Regions from separate parts of the Homo sapiens genome. Here all the other regions are linked to region 5. The links are contacts of gene promoters, found by promoter capture Hi-C in blood cells and fetal thymus (Javierre and others, 2016). All regions are on one chromosome and are shown on one strand. The core of a region is centred on a gene start or on the middle of the fragment in contact, and the rest is flanking DNA. Distances in the headings are between cores, read along the strand shown. Region 1 holds the start of MIR4743 (microRNA 4743). Region 2 overlaps SMAD7 (SMAD family member 7). Region 3 has its middle 37 kb from the start of SKA1. Region 4 holds the start of CTIF (cap binding complex dependent translation initiation factor). Region 5 holds the start of C18orf32 (chromosome 18 open reading frame 32).

Evidence for each region. The method cuts DNA at HindIII sites, captures the fragments that hold promoters and counts their contacts. A CHiCAGO score of 5 or more calls a contact.
Region 1: a contact is called between a fragment that was not itself captured here and the fragment with the promoter of C18orf32 in region 5, in 1 of 17 cell types (fetal thymus). The highest score is 7.2, in fetal thymus.
Region 2: a fragment that was not itself captured here is called in contact with the fragment with the promoter of C18orf32 in region 5 in 1 of 17 cell types (fetal thymus); the score reaches 5.4 in fetal thymus.
Region 3: a fragment that was not itself captured here is called in contact with the fragment with the promoter of C18orf32 in region 5 in 1 of 17 cell types (total B cells); the score reaches 5.8 in total B cells.
Region 4: a contact is called between the fragment with the promoter of CTIF here and the fragment with the promoter of C18orf32 in region 5, in 10 of 17 cell types (total CD4 T cells, monocytes, total B cells and 7 more). The highest score is 12.3, in total CD4 T cells.

The regions. Positions count from the first base shown.
Region 1 is chr18:48,669,322-48,672,021 of GRCh38, reverse strand. CTIF (cap binding complex dependent translation initiation factor) reads right to left here. Exons shown (of 12, transcript NM_014772.3): 6 at 1,278-1,353. It overlaps MIR4743 (microRNA 4743), which reads right to left and starts at 1,422; the gene lies at 1,354-1,422. The HindIII fragment of the contact is 6,169 bases long and covers 1-2,700 here.
Region 2 is chr18:48,938,833-48,941,532 of GRCh38, reverse strand. The region is part of intron 3 of SMAD7 (SMAD family member 7); the gene reads left to right. Among named protein-coding and RNA genes, the nearest start is that of SMAD7, 11 kb to the left of the region's middle. RefSeq lists an enhancer at 1-82. The HindIII fragment of the contact is 2,090 bases long and covers 246-2,335 here.
Region 3 is chr18:50,337,106-50,339,805 of GRCh38, reverse strand. No RefSeq gene overlaps it. Among named protein-coding and RNA genes, the nearest start is that of SKA1, 37 kb to the left of the region's middle. The HindIII fragment of the contact is 2,599 bases long and covers 39-2,637 here.
Region 4 is chr18:48,537,781-48,540,480 of GRCh38, reverse strand. It overlaps CTIF (cap binding complex dependent translation initiation factor), which reads right to left and starts at 1,450. Exons shown (of 12, transcript NM_014772.3): 1 at 1,169-1,450. RefSeq lists silencers at 405-764, 1,265-1,344. The HindIII fragment of the contact is 7,178 bases long and covers 1-2,700 here.
Region 5 is chr18:49,485,957-49,488,656 of GRCh38, reverse strand. It overlaps C18orf32 (chromosome 18 open reading frame 32), which reads left to right and starts at 1,423. Exons shown (of 3, transcript NM_001035005.4): 1 at 1,423-1,614. The region is part of intron 5 of RPL17-C18orf32 (RPL17-C18orf32 readthrough); the gene reads left to right. It overlaps RPL17 (ribosomal protein L17), which reads left to right. Exons shown (of 7, transcript NM_001035006.5): 7 at 91-176. The coding sequence ends at 138. It overlaps MIR1539 (microRNA 1539), which reads right to left and starts at 1,284; the gene lies at 1,235-1,284. RefSeq lists an enhancer at 1,365-1,524 and a silencer at 1,565-1,694. The HindIII fragment of the contact is 3,674 bases long and covers 1,228-2,700 here.

The sequences.
Region 1 (2,700 bases), core at 139-2,638, 820 kb after region 5:
TGCTTTAAAAATGCAGATTCTAGCTGGACACAGTGGCTTATTAAAAAAGCCCACAATGACCTTCGAGAGATAAAAACTACAATGTCTGAAATGAAAAATATACTGAATGGGATTAACAGTAGATTTGACACTGGAATAAAATATTAGTGAACTTGAAGAAATAGCAATAAAAGCTATCCAAAATGAAACACAGAGAGTAAAGAAAGACTTTAAAAAATCAGGCAGAGCTTTGGTGAGCCATGGGAAAAGATGAAGAAGCATAGAATACATACAATTGGAACCCCAGGGTTGAGGGAAAGTAGGAGGAATCGTGGCTGAAAATTTTCCAAATTTGATGAAACTATAAACCTACAGATCCAAGAAACTCAATAAATCCCAAGTGGGAGAAACATGAAGAAAACCACCACACCAAGGCACATCATAATCAAATAGATGAGGTCTTAACTGTATGCTCTATTGTCTCTCATTGATAGGCCCAAGGCATGAACAGAGAAGAAACAAAATGGCAAAGGCACCAGGAAGAGATGAATGGATATAGATAAAATAGCAGGAGAAGAATCAGGAGAGAAGGGAAGGGTGGCACAGTGGAGTGTGGTGGTAGGTCATGGTCACTGGCAGCGGCAGACTCAGTCACTGTGGAAGGTCCACTGCTTTTACACCCCTGCAGCAGGCCCAGTCACACTCCTGAGAGCAGCTAGACTCCTGCTGTTTCCACCAAAAGTCCAGCACTATAAGTATCTAGAGACCTGGATTCACTGAGTGAATCCTCTTTGTCCTGGAACCTGGCCTGATTCCAGGAAAGAGGCCCAATCAATAAAAAAAAGAGCAAGCATAGCAGACACCTGGAGGCCAGCAGGGCAAGTCCACTGTTCAAAAGCCTAAAGACAGCCCCAGCCACATTAGAATCTCTTCCAGGCCTGCCAGTCCCACCTGAACACACCACAGGACACTTCACCTGCAGAGAGGTTTCAGGCCAAGGGACAAAAACTTCCAAGTTCACTGAGTTGCCAGGGCATGGTCTATTTCATCTCTAGGGCACATCAGGCCTGCCAGCAGGGCCTGCAGCATCACCGAGTAGGCTGTCACACACACGATCACAATGGGACACCCTGGAGAATGGCAGGTAGCCAGCCCTGCCTATTACTACCATACAGGCGGTTACACTCCTTGCTGGAACAAGCAGCCAGAAGGAGTGCTTTGGTTAGGTCCTGTCCAGGAAGAGGATCAGGACTCCAGGGGTGGGGGTGGGCTGTTAGAGAGCCTGCCCCTGCACCTACCTGCCAGGCTGGAAGGACCTTCTCGATGTCATTCAGGTTGATGCCATCCCCATCTTCCAGCTTCCCTTTGCCACACCTGGACCAGAAAAGACAGAAAGGCATTGGAAAGATGGCTCATTCATGCCTCCTGTCCCATCCGGCCAGCAGGAGAGGAGGGACAGTCAGCAGATACCTGGTGCTGCCCACCCTCAAGCCCTGCAGGGGCTGTCCCACCTAGAGGAAACAGCCCTAGAGAAGCTGTGTGTGTGTGGGGGGGGGGTCCTCCCGTAATGCAACAGCCAACCTGGAGGGAGGTGGGAGAGGAACCAGAGTTCCCCTTGCTCCTTCCAGGCAGAGAAGCTAAGCTCCTTACTCATCACAACTCCTGTCAAAGCCCATCCACCTTGCCCCATTACACTGAACAGAAGATCAGTGGACAGAGACACCAAGCAACTTTCTCAAGGTCACATAGGCTGGCAGGGGCTAGCAGAAAACCCAATAGGGCTTCCTTCCTTTTTGGCTTGACTCTGGGTCAGTCCAGCAAGCCCACTCAGATAGTCTATGCTTTGTCTTCATGTCCTCTGTGAGTGGGCGTGCCCTCGGGCCAGAGAGGCTGGCCCCAACTCCCTGGCCAGAGGTCTGAATCTTTGGCATATTTAAGGGTGCAGATTCCGAAACCAGACTCCCAGGGTTTGAATCCCCGCTGCATCCCTTACCAACTGGGGACCCTGTACAAGTTGTTTAACCTCTCTGTACTCATTTCATCAAATGAGTTTCCTCATTTGTTAAATGAGGATAATAGTGTCTAACATCTTAAGGTGGCTGGAGGATTAAATTAATGAATGTATCTGGAGTGCTTAGATGCTTAGAACTGTGACAGCCCACAGTAAACGGTACATATATACACACATATATAGTCTAGCTTATATATATATATATATATATATATATATATATATATATATATATATAAATGTTTAGCTTGTTTGTTTATAAATGTGTGTGTGTATATTTCTTGTGTATGTATTATTATCTGTATTTACCATTAAATATATCTTAAACATACACACATATGTTTAATGGTAAATACTGGTAATAATAACAAAATTAAAATAAATAATGAAGTAAATATATTGCTACTACTATGACTACTTTCATTACCACTAATATTGTTGCTGTTGTTTAGGCAAAGAGGCAGGAGGGTGATTAATTAAGGACACAGATTCTGGAGCCAACCCAGCCTCATGCAAATTACTCAATTTCTGGGTCTCCTAGTTGCTTCATCTATTGAAGAGAAGATGGTAACAGTTCCTCCCTCTCTGGGTGGTGGCGAGTTTTAAATAAATGAGGCAAACACTTAGAACAGAGGCTGGAGCATGGCCGGTGCATAGTAAGTATTGTCAGTTACTATTATTACTGGTATTGACTGAGGAATGGTGAGAGA
Region 2 (2,700 bases), core at 41-2,540, 550 kb after region 5:
CTGTTGTGGTGTATCCTCTTGTGTGAGGGGCACCCTTTTTTGTGGGGTACCTGCTCTGACTACTTGGTGGTGTGTCTTCCATGGCTGGCTCAGGCAAAGTTCATTCCCGGACGGCTCCCTCCCCGGCTCTCCTCTTCAGGAACTGAGCTTGCTGAGAACGTCTTTAGGGAGACCCTTGTTTGTTTTCATTTCAATGCAATATATACTCTGTTATCTGAGACTGAGGGTATTGTTTACTCAAAGCTTCTAATGAGAATTGAGCAGGAAAAAGAGGGACCTAGAGAAGGGAGGGGGCTTCAGGCAGTACGGTGGGAGTGGACAGAGGAGTTGAGGAGGGAGAAAAGGCAGCAGTGTGTGAACTGCATCTTTTCTGCTTTCTAAGGCTGAGAGAGTTCTTGAAAGAAAGAAGGCCAATGAGAGGAAAGGGTCTCAGCAGAATAACACGCTCAGGATGTTGTTAGATGGTTTTATTTTTTAAACCCTGAATGTGCAGGGAGGAGCCCCGGCCCCTCCAAACCACATGAAATAAGCAAGGGAAGTGGCAGCTTTTGAAAGGGTCCTTTCGGAAGGTTTGTCTTCTTGATAACATCTTGTCTGTCTCCCCTGCCGGAGGAAATGACGACACCAGGCTGAGATACCAGCCTGAGTGCCTCCTCACCCGCCCGTGCCATGTGACCTGTGAAGCCCTCAGGAGATGGGTGGGCTTTTTTTTTTTTTTCTTTTTTGACAAAGTCTCGCTCTGTCGCCCAGGCTGGAGTGCAGTGGCGCGATTTCGGCTCACACAGACGGAGTCTCGCTCTGTCACCAGGCTGGAGTGCAGTGGCCCGATTTCGGCTCACTGCAACCTCCACCTCCCAGGTTCAAGCAATTCTCCTGCCTCAGCCTCCCAAGTAGCTGGGATTACAGGCATCCACCACTGTGCCCAGCTAATTTTTTGTATTTTTAGTAGAGATGGGGTTTCGCCATGTTGGCCAGGCTGGTCTTGAACTCCTGACCTCGGATGATCCACCCACCCTTTCCTCCCCAAGTGCTGAGATTACAGGTGTGAGCCACTGCGCCTGGCCGATGGGTGGGCTTTTTTTCCCCAAAGCTCTTCCAGTCCTAGAAAGAAACTGGGGGTAAAACAATCATTAACTCCTTCCCCTCACCCCTCCAGGTAATTGTAGACACAGATATTAATAAGGAGCTGCCAGGAAGAAGCAGTGACTCTCTGAAGGGCAGTGTGGCTTCAGAAGACTGCAGAGAGAAGAGGGGGCCTTCCACATGGCAAGAGCATTTGTTTTGAATTTCAGCTCTTGATTTACTAATTCCAAAGGCTTCAAAGTTTGAGCTCCTTCTTCTTTCCGTTCAGAGTTGGTGCAGTGTATTCATAATGGGCCATGGTGGGGAGGGTACACTGTTTTGGGGGTTGATGTCACCGGCTTGGGGGCGTCTGGAGGGGAGGTGATGGGCACGGAGAAAACCTAGGGCTGTCCTCTTTGTAGCGAGAATGCCTTCCAAAAGGGAACTTTATTGGCCCCTGTCCAGGGCAGAGAGTTTTGTAAATGGAGAAAGCCCAAACCTCCTCCTTTTCAAGAAGTTGATCGTTCCATGGGGGGTGGCCTGGGTGTGTCTGCCTTGCTGTGGATGAGGCCAGTGACTGGATGTGGCAGGGCTGGATGGGGGAAGGGGCATAGCAGACACTGAGGTTGGGGGGTGGGAGCCTGGCAGCAAGGTGGGGAGCAGTGAAAACTGAGGAGTTTCTCCCTCCTCCTCCTTGAAATAACCTCTCTGAGCCTCTTTCACAGGCCCTGTGTGCTGTTTTCCTTCCTGTCCTGCCCTGGCTGAGAGCGGGCTTAATGAATGGGGCTCAGTTTAGGGTGGGAGGAAGGTCGGCAGCAGGAGCCAGGGCTTGATTCTCTTGGCAAGGGAAGAAGGGAAAGAAAAAACAGCCGAATGTGAAAATGTGGTGCCTCGGAGGTGGGGGTGGGGTGTGCTCAAAGGCCGGTCCTCTCCTGAAATGCAGGGGTGACTCCAAGGCTGGCCCTTCCCTTTCCTGCGCCCTTGCAAACTGCCCGGGAGGAAGGGGAGTGGGCGGGTAGGAGCCCGGGGGCGGGGCTGCTGGCTGCAGGTTGGAATTCCAGCATTGCAGCTTTGTTTTGGGGGGGTGTGGGGGGGTGGGTAGACGACAGGCCTGGTCGTTAGGGACTTGCAGTGAAACACACCCCACCCTTGCAAGTTTCCTCGGTCTGGGAAAATGGGACATTTTTAGAAGGCAGTGACTTGCTTCCAGGAGATTGTACTTTCATTTTTGACAGCTGGCTCTCTGAGACAGATGGATTGCTGGGTGCAAGCTTGTGTGTGTATGCGTGTGTGTGTGTTGTGGGGGTGGGTGTGTGGGTGGGTGGGTTTTGCCGCAGACGTACAGATAGACAATCCCGTGCGCAAACACATGAGAGCGTGCGGATGCCCACAGGCAGGCTCTGGGATAGGGTGGGTCCCTGTCGCTGGGGTGGGTTGATGTCAGGGCGGCCTCTCCAAGAGGTTGTGGACTTGTGGGGTGGAGTTTGTGGATTGATTCTGCTTTGTGATTTGGCAGTCTGTGCCTGACTCTCTGGGATGGGTGTCTTTTGAAAGGCATGCAACTCCAGAACAGGTCCTTGCTGCTGCTTGGACATGGATGTGTCATGGCTCAGGAAGATCACCTGGGAGAGGTCTGAT
Region 3 (2,700 bases), core at 89-2,588, 850 kb before region 5:
GTGACTAGGTACGAGTTGTTTGAAAGATAAGGAAAGCTTTTTCTCATCCACCATAATCAGCTTGACCAATCTTATAAATAAGTTCTCTATTTGGACAACCATAATTTGGGGTCTTGAAGGGCTCTCACTGTCCCAGACAACCCTTGGAGTGTCTCCTGAGATGAGGATGGGAGCATGTCACAGAAGGGTGCTTGTTTGGGATGCAGCACATCCATGGCCTGCTCCCTGTTTTCAAGGAACTTCTAATCTAAAATGAAAACAACTGGTGTGGAGTCCTAATTAGGGAAAAGGAGTCAAGCTGGCAGTACCAAGGAAAAGCAATAAGAGAAATCAGATAAGCTATAAGTCTGCCTTTCTTCAAGCCTTGAATTGGCTATGCAGTTAAGATATCTGGAACTCTCCCTCTACATTGTGAACCATCCTCTGTGGAAGGTGATTGGACTGTGAGCATTTTTGGTTTCTATATTATTACTGCTTTAAAGTTATCACCTCAATCACGGTGGGACTGGAAAATGAGCCTCTTGTGAGCCTGTCGGGGCTAACTGAACCGCACTTCCACGTGGGGCATCCCGTCAATGAAAAGGGTTCCACTCAGCTCTGCTGAGGCACTCAGGTGCACTTTCTAACGGGGTGTCTCACCTATTAGGAAAGACCAAGGCAGCTGCTGGGCGGGAAGGATGGGTGCATAAAAGGACTATGGTGGCAGGAGGCCAGGGAGATGCCTCTCCTGAAGAATGTTGATGTCCAGACAAGTCACATGAACTACTGACCTAAGGACCTGGATTCATTTGTTAGTGCAGACCAGTTCCAACAGGCCAGACTCCTCTATCCACACTTAGGCAATTAGAGTTATTGATCCAGCCCCTGCTCGGTGCAGAGCTCCATGGAGGCAGAATAGTGAATACAATGAGCCCTGAATAGTTTACCCTTCACCCCTTAGGGGCCTCCTCTCTGTTTTCAAGGAACTTCTAATCTAAAGTGAAAACAACTGGTGTGGAGTCCTAATTAGGGAAACGGAGTCAAGCTGGCAGGACCAAAGGAAAGCAGAAAGAGAAATCAGATAAGCTATAAGTCTGCCTTTCTTCATGGTCCAGGACACATAGCCCTCCTGCGCAAATAACTCACAATCTTCCCGTGCCCAGCTATCACCAGACTCTCTACTAATAGAAAAATTCAAGTTAGCTCACTGCAATCTTGGCATTGTCAGTACTGCACAAAGCCCTCTTCAGCACACAGAAGTACCATCCTGTAAAATCCCCAGCAAGGCTTTGTTTCCTTGCTGTCAGCTCCTCTCTTGCTAATCTGCCTGTTGCACCCTTACAACATATTTTCATACTTTCTCTAACATGTCTGCTTTTCTTTACCTACAGTTGTCTTGGTAAATTCTTAACCCCATGCCACTGGCCCCAGATAGTCGCTAATCATCCGTGACATTTTGGTGGCCCATATGGGGAACTCTCTTTATGGGGAACCCTCTCCTCTCTCTCTTCCTCTTTCCCAACTTGCAATCCTCAGTGGACAGTGTCTAAACACAGAGACAGCTGTAGGTCCCTGGCTAGAGCTACACTCTGGTGGGACTGAAAGGCATCTGTGTGGAAGTGTCTGACCACCACTGCCCTTTCAGGTGAGGGACCTGAGTTTATTTTCTCTTTTCAGTCTCCCAGCAGCTGGCTTCTATTATCCCTCTGGAAATTAATGATAACTGGCCAGGGCCACTCTCCAGTGTTGCCTGAAGCCAAAGGGTGAACAGGGCTGGCTGCCTTGCCTAAAAGGGAAAAAGACTCTCCCCTTTCTTTTCTAGTAAAAAGTCCCTAATCCCTACCTGTGACATGACTGACAGTGGAAGCTCCTTAAGGGCAAATTCATACATGTTTTAGGTGACTTAGACCCTCTCCTTCTCACTCTGGATTCTCCTGTGGAGCCAAACTGTTCTGGGCATTGCTAAATCAAGTGGTCTCAAACAGCCTCAGAACAGTGAGTCTTCCTTTACCCACCCCCATCTCCTGGGCGGGCACCAGACAGACCTCTTCCTTTACCCTTTTTCCCCATAGGTGGGCTGATCACCCAGTGTAAGGCCCACAGGCAACTGAGAGGTCTTTCCTAATAGGTGAGACACCCCGTTAGAAAGTGCACTTGAGTCCCTCAGCAGACCTGAGTGGAACCCTTTTCATTGACGGGATGCCCCACGTGGAAGTGCGGTTCAGTTAGCCCCGACAGGCTCACGAGAGGCTCATTTTCCAGTCCTACCATGAGACAAACCCCGTCTATTTCTTCAGATTCACCTCTGGGTTGCGTCCTAAAACATTAAGAGAAATTTAACCCTGAGACTCTCAAAAAGAAATGTCTATTTTTCTTGTGTACTACAGCATGGCTCCTATGCAGAAAATCCTCTAATTAGCCTCCTCAGTCTTTTATAACCAAGAGTAGAACAGGGTTAGAAAGAAAAAAACAAATGCAGAGGCAAAACACAGACTCAACTGTTGGCTGCTTTACAAGCACCAGCCCCTTCCAGGTTTCCCTAAGAACACTCTTCCAGGTTACTGCCATCGGTACAGAAGGCCAGGCCACTGAAAAGCAAACTGCCCCAATAAAAGAAATGGAAAAAGCCCTGCATGGCTTGCCCCTCTGCCACAAGCTTGACCACTAGAAATAGGACTGTCATGAGAGCCAAAGGGCCCCCAGGACAAAATGCCAACACCT
Region 4 (2,700 bases), core at 201-2,700, 950 kb after region 5:
TCAGGCGCGCGGTGTCCCGGACGCCCCCTCCGGCCACATCCAGGCACCGGCACGCGGCCCTCCGAGGCCCCAGACCTTCGCCGCAGCCCAAGCCATCGCCCCCCCGCCCGCCCTCCCCCATGACCGGCGCCCGGGACAGTTACCTGCTCGTCGTCCTGATGAACCCGAGCCGGAGCCCACCCCACGGCCTCTCGGGTCACTCGCCACCCAGAGGTGGCTTTTCAGAGCCTGTCAAGTGAACCCCTCTCCGCCGGGCGTATCTATTCCCCAGGCCCGATTGCACCGCAGCGACAGGAATAATAAAAAAAGCCAACAGAACCACAACCGTTGGGAATAACCAAAGGGGAGACCGCAACGGGTCCACCGATTTGGTTTCTTCCTCTGCTCCCATCCCCCGCTCCCCCCGCGGCCCGCGGGCTCACCGGGGACGCAGGGAGGGGGCTGCGCCCTGTCTAGACGACAGCCATCCACAGACATCCCCGAGCCCGCGGGGACGGGCGCGCACACTCACACACGCCCGCTGCCACAGACACAATCAGTCACCGGGGAAGGGAGGGGCGGCGTGGCGACACACTCTCGGGGTCCCTCCCGCAGCCCCGAGTGCCGCAGCCCCCGGCCCCCAAACGCCACCCCGAGACGGGCTCCCTACCTCGGCGGAGCGCGGTCTGAACAGCTGCAAGTTTGGCTGATACTAAACCAACTGCTCGATGCAGCAAATGCGGGCTTCAAAACAAAAGGGAGAGGAATCGCGCTCGCTCTTTTCCTCCTCCCAGGTCGGAACCCGGCACATGACAGCGGCTACACCGCGCAGCTCCAAAGCGAGCCGGGCTCCAGCCGTGCGTCCCCCAAGAGCCCCCCTTGGCGCCGGAGCTCCAGGGCCACGACACCCCGCGGGGCGGGGAACCCGGCAGGGAATGGGACAAACCCAGGGAGGGGGCGACACTGTGGAGTGCAGTTCCCCACCGAGGGGGAGGAGGGGATGGTAGATGGGTGCGGACACCCCGCTGGCCCAGGAGCAGGGATGGGGGGAAGGGGGCTGATTGTTTGGGGCGGTTTTCCCGGATTTATCTATAAGCACGCCCACGTCACGCAGCCCTCCTCCCGGGTCCCCGAATCGATCAGCAAGCTGAGATGACTATAAGAGGAGGACGGGCGAGGAGATGCTCACCTCGGGGTTCCTCTGGCCGCCGCGCCAAGCCCGAGTCGGGGGTGGGGGAAGGGGGCAGGGAAGGGGAAGGGAGGGACGAGGCTCCGGAGAGCCGACTCCTGCCTCGAGTTCGGAGCGTCCCAGCTGCGGAGGGGATCGGGCGCCCCAGCGCACAGACCCAGCAGAGAGGGGAGGGAGGGAGGGAAGGGAAACAGGGAGGGAGGGGCGGGTAGGGGGGAGGGAGTAGAGGAAGGAAAAAAAATGATCCCTGATCTGACACAGGGAAAGAGAATGTAGGAGAGTGACGTTCAGGCCCCGCCCTCCCCTCCGGCCACGTGCAAAGACTTGAAAGGAAAGAGGGCGGCTGGAGGCCTGCTGGGTAATGTAGTTCGCCTTTCTTTTCCAGGATGGCGGGCCCTGGAGAGCAGGGTGGCCCCAGGACGCTCGGGATGTCGCCTTAGCTGCCAAGACAGCCCAGTCTAGCGACGCCAAAACCCGCCGCCCAGCGACCCCACGGCGCTGGCGCAGCCCTGGGTGGGGGCCTCTGCGGTGGGAGAACTGGGGGCTTAGGCGCAGTCCAGGCTTACAGGGAAACGTTGGTTTTAGAGTCCGAAAGGCTTTAAGGATGAGAACGTCCGTGCCGAAAGTGCAAAGTCTGTGCTAATGGCAGATGAAAAGGAGCTTTGTGTATGCACTGGGGGGCCCAAGTGGCGTGATTAATGCTGCACTAAATGCCACCGTCGGTTATTGAGATGCATATGTTATAATTAACATTTGAGCATCTCTGTGTCGGGGGCTGGCTGTTGTAATTAGATACGCACTTTGCAACCAATTAATTTTCCTTCGGCCAAGCTAAGGGCTGGGACGGGGTGGTTGGGAGAATTCAACGTAGTGGATAATTCAGTAATGACTTAACCAGATCACCAATGTTTTGGTTAAAACTGAGCTTGGCACAGAGAGGCCTTCAGGAGAAATACTGAATAAAATACTGTATGCCCCAACAGGGAAGGGGGCTAGAAATTCATTAGAGGAACTGTGTGATGCAGTATAAACTGCTGTAGAAACCCATTTATTCATTAGTTTATATTCACATTTAGTGAGCACTTTCCACAGACCAGGTGTGTCTAGGAATGCCAAAACAGGTAAGACTCACAGTCTCTGCGCTCAAGGAGCTCAGTCCAGTATTAGGGACTACAGTCAATGAAAGTATTATACAAGGGATAAGTCAGCGCTTAACACAAAGTGCTGTGAAATTCCCCCCACCACACAACCTGGAGCAGCCAACTGGATGGAGGGTGGGTGGGGTCTGGGAGAGGGTCAGGAAGACTTCCTGGAGGAAGTGATACTTGAGCAAAGAATTTCTAAGTTTTTTTTTCTTTTTTTTTTTTTTTGGAGACTGAGTCTCTCTTTGTTGCCCTGGCTGGAGTGCAGTGGCGTGATCTTGGCTCACTGCAAGCTCTGCCTCCCTGGTTCATGCCATTCTCCTGCCTCAGCCTCCCAAGTAGCTGGGACTTCAGGCGCCCGCCACCACACCTGGCCAATTTTTTTTTTTT
Region 5 (2,700 bases), core at 174-2,673:
ACTAGGTTTCCTGCCTCCAGAATAAGCTGAAGTCCTCCAAGATGTACTGTGGTTTTCTCTAAGAAACTTAACACATTTTTCTTTCCCCAGATATCCCAGAAGAAACTGAAGAAACAAAAACTTATGGCACGGGAGTAAATTCAGCATTAAAATAAATGTAATTAAAAGGAAAAGAATGTTGGTTGTCTTTATTAGTGAACATATTTCAAGTGTCCTTACAAGATGGATCAAATGAGGATTTTTTAGGATTAGAACTAGAAACACAAGATTGTTTACCCTGCACCATTAAAAACCATTTTCATGGCTGGGCACAGTGGCTCATTTCTGTAGTCCCAGCACTTTGGGAGGTGGAGGCTGACTGCTTAAGCCCAGCCAGGGCAACATGTCAGAACCCTGTCTGTTAAAAAAAAGTAAGTGTGGTGTCACTTGCATGTAGTCCCAGCTAATTGGGGGGCTGAGGTGGGAGGCTGCAGTGAGCACTACTGCACCCCAGCGTGGGCAAGACAGAACAAGACCCTGTCTCAAAAAAAGTTTCATTATCCCAAAAGGAATTTGCAGTGGTTTTCTTTGCAGAACAATCCAGTATGTGAATATACCAGTTGATCATCCCCAGTTGGAAATGGCTCCATTGAGCATTGCCTTTGAGTATGATAACAGCACTCAGGCTCAGGTTTTGAAGCTTTTTAGGTTGATGCTCAACCTGTATCATTTCGTCAATTGATAAAGGGGTTTTGTTTTTGCTATTAGGAACGATGGTACTGTGAACGTTTGTGTGCAGATTTTTGTGTTTTCATTTATTGAGTATATACTAGAGTGGAATTGCTAGATCATAAGGTTACCTGAGTAAACATCTGAGGAACTTCCAAATATTTCCAAAAAGGCTGCACGCTACATTTCCACCAACGGTTTATGAGGGTCCCAGTTTTCACACAACTTCGCCAACACGTACTGACATCCTAGCGAGCGTCAGTACTTTTCGTTTATAAAGTGATGTAACTGCTTCTTTTAAGCAACTGACGTTTGTAAAGTTGGCCTTAATGTTAGTTTGCTCTGCCCTTGAATTTAAGAAACCAGCAAAACTAATAGCTTATCCACAGTTGCCTCAACGGCCTAGCTGCCACCTTCCGTGTGGGTGCCGCGCCGTTTGCACAGGCATCATCCTTTACCGAGATCCTGCGTTCTGGGTCTGGGTGTAGTCAGGTCAGGCTTTCTTCCCGCAGCGAAGCTTTTAGTTGGGCATCTGGGACGCGCAGGACTTTCGCGCTACCTGCAGGCCGCAGAGCCGGAAGCCTCGCCGCGCCCCTTGGGCAACACTGCTGCGTGCTGTGCGACCCCGGGTTGACGCAAGCGCGCCTTTGTCGTCCCCGTTGAAGGCGCCCATTGGCTCGGCTGCGGATCGTCCCTCCCTCCGGAAGTGCGGACATTGTCAGCTGCGTTTCCGCGGTCGCGGGTGAGTGTGCCCGGGCTAGCGGCCTGGGTTGGGCTTTGTAGCTGCTCCGCAGGCCCAGCCCGGGCCGCGCTCGCAGAGTCCTAGGCGGTGCGCGGCCTCCTGCCTCCTCCCTCCTCGGCGGTCGCGGCCCGCCGGCCTCCGCGGTGCCTGCCTTCGCTCTCAGGGTACCTTCCTTCCGCGAGCGCGCTCCTCCGCCCTCCGCCCCGCCCTCCCCTCCCCTCTGTCTGTATTCTTTGTCCACCACCGGCGCCCTCGGAGCTTGCATTTGCCTCTCCGATACTTTATATTGATTTTGTTCTTTTCCGTGGCCAAGTATCGGTTTCACATCCTTTCTATGACCTTCACCGTTAGGCCTCTGTTCTCGTCTCTTTTCAATCATTGTCATTGACTCAACCTGTCCCCGCTCCCTCTGTCTCCACTAAGATGACATGCTCAACTGGATGACTTGGAGGAAGGTGACTTTCCCTGTTATGCCTTCCCTATTTCGGATGGAGCCTCAGACTTTAACTGTCTACTCTGTTGTCTGGACTTAAGTTGAGTGAAAGAAGATTCCTCTGCAACAGCTTTAATCCGTTTTGCTCGCTTTGTTGGCTTGGAGCGAATAATTAAAATAATAATATCTCGTAGCCACCTTCTAGACTTTTCTGACCCAGTTTCCATATGTGTGAAGTAAAATATCTTACCGAAGTATTATTATGAAGATTAAAAGATAAGATACAAATAGGCTTCATTCCGAAGAGAGCTAAAAAGTCTCTTAAAAGCCGTAATTGTGGCGTAAGTGATTAGTAGTATTTGTCCTCGAGAGTTTATGTACATCGTACTGTGTGCGAACTTACTTAAAACACAATTGCAGAAGTAAAAATGAATCTTTATGATGGAGGGCCTGTCAGTCACTAAACTAGTACTGGTAGCATTGTCAGTTGTTTTGAAGGGGTTTCGTTGGTTTGGAAAGTTTGGTAAAAGTTTGGTAAAAACATGACCATTGTGTTTTTGGAAGAGGAAAAGGCAAGAGCATTGAGGAAAACCAGAACTGGAAATAATGGTCTTAGAAGCTCTAGTTACCAGTTACCTCTGTGAGAACTTTGGACAGGTTACAACTTTTGGATTTTTTTTTTTTTTTAATCTTGAGACAGGGTCTGCCTCTGTGGCCCAGGCTGGAGTCCAGTGGGCCATCATAGCTCACGGCAGTTTCGGCTTTCCTGGGCGCAAGCGGTTCTCTCCTTCCTCAGCTCCCCAAATACCTGGGACTA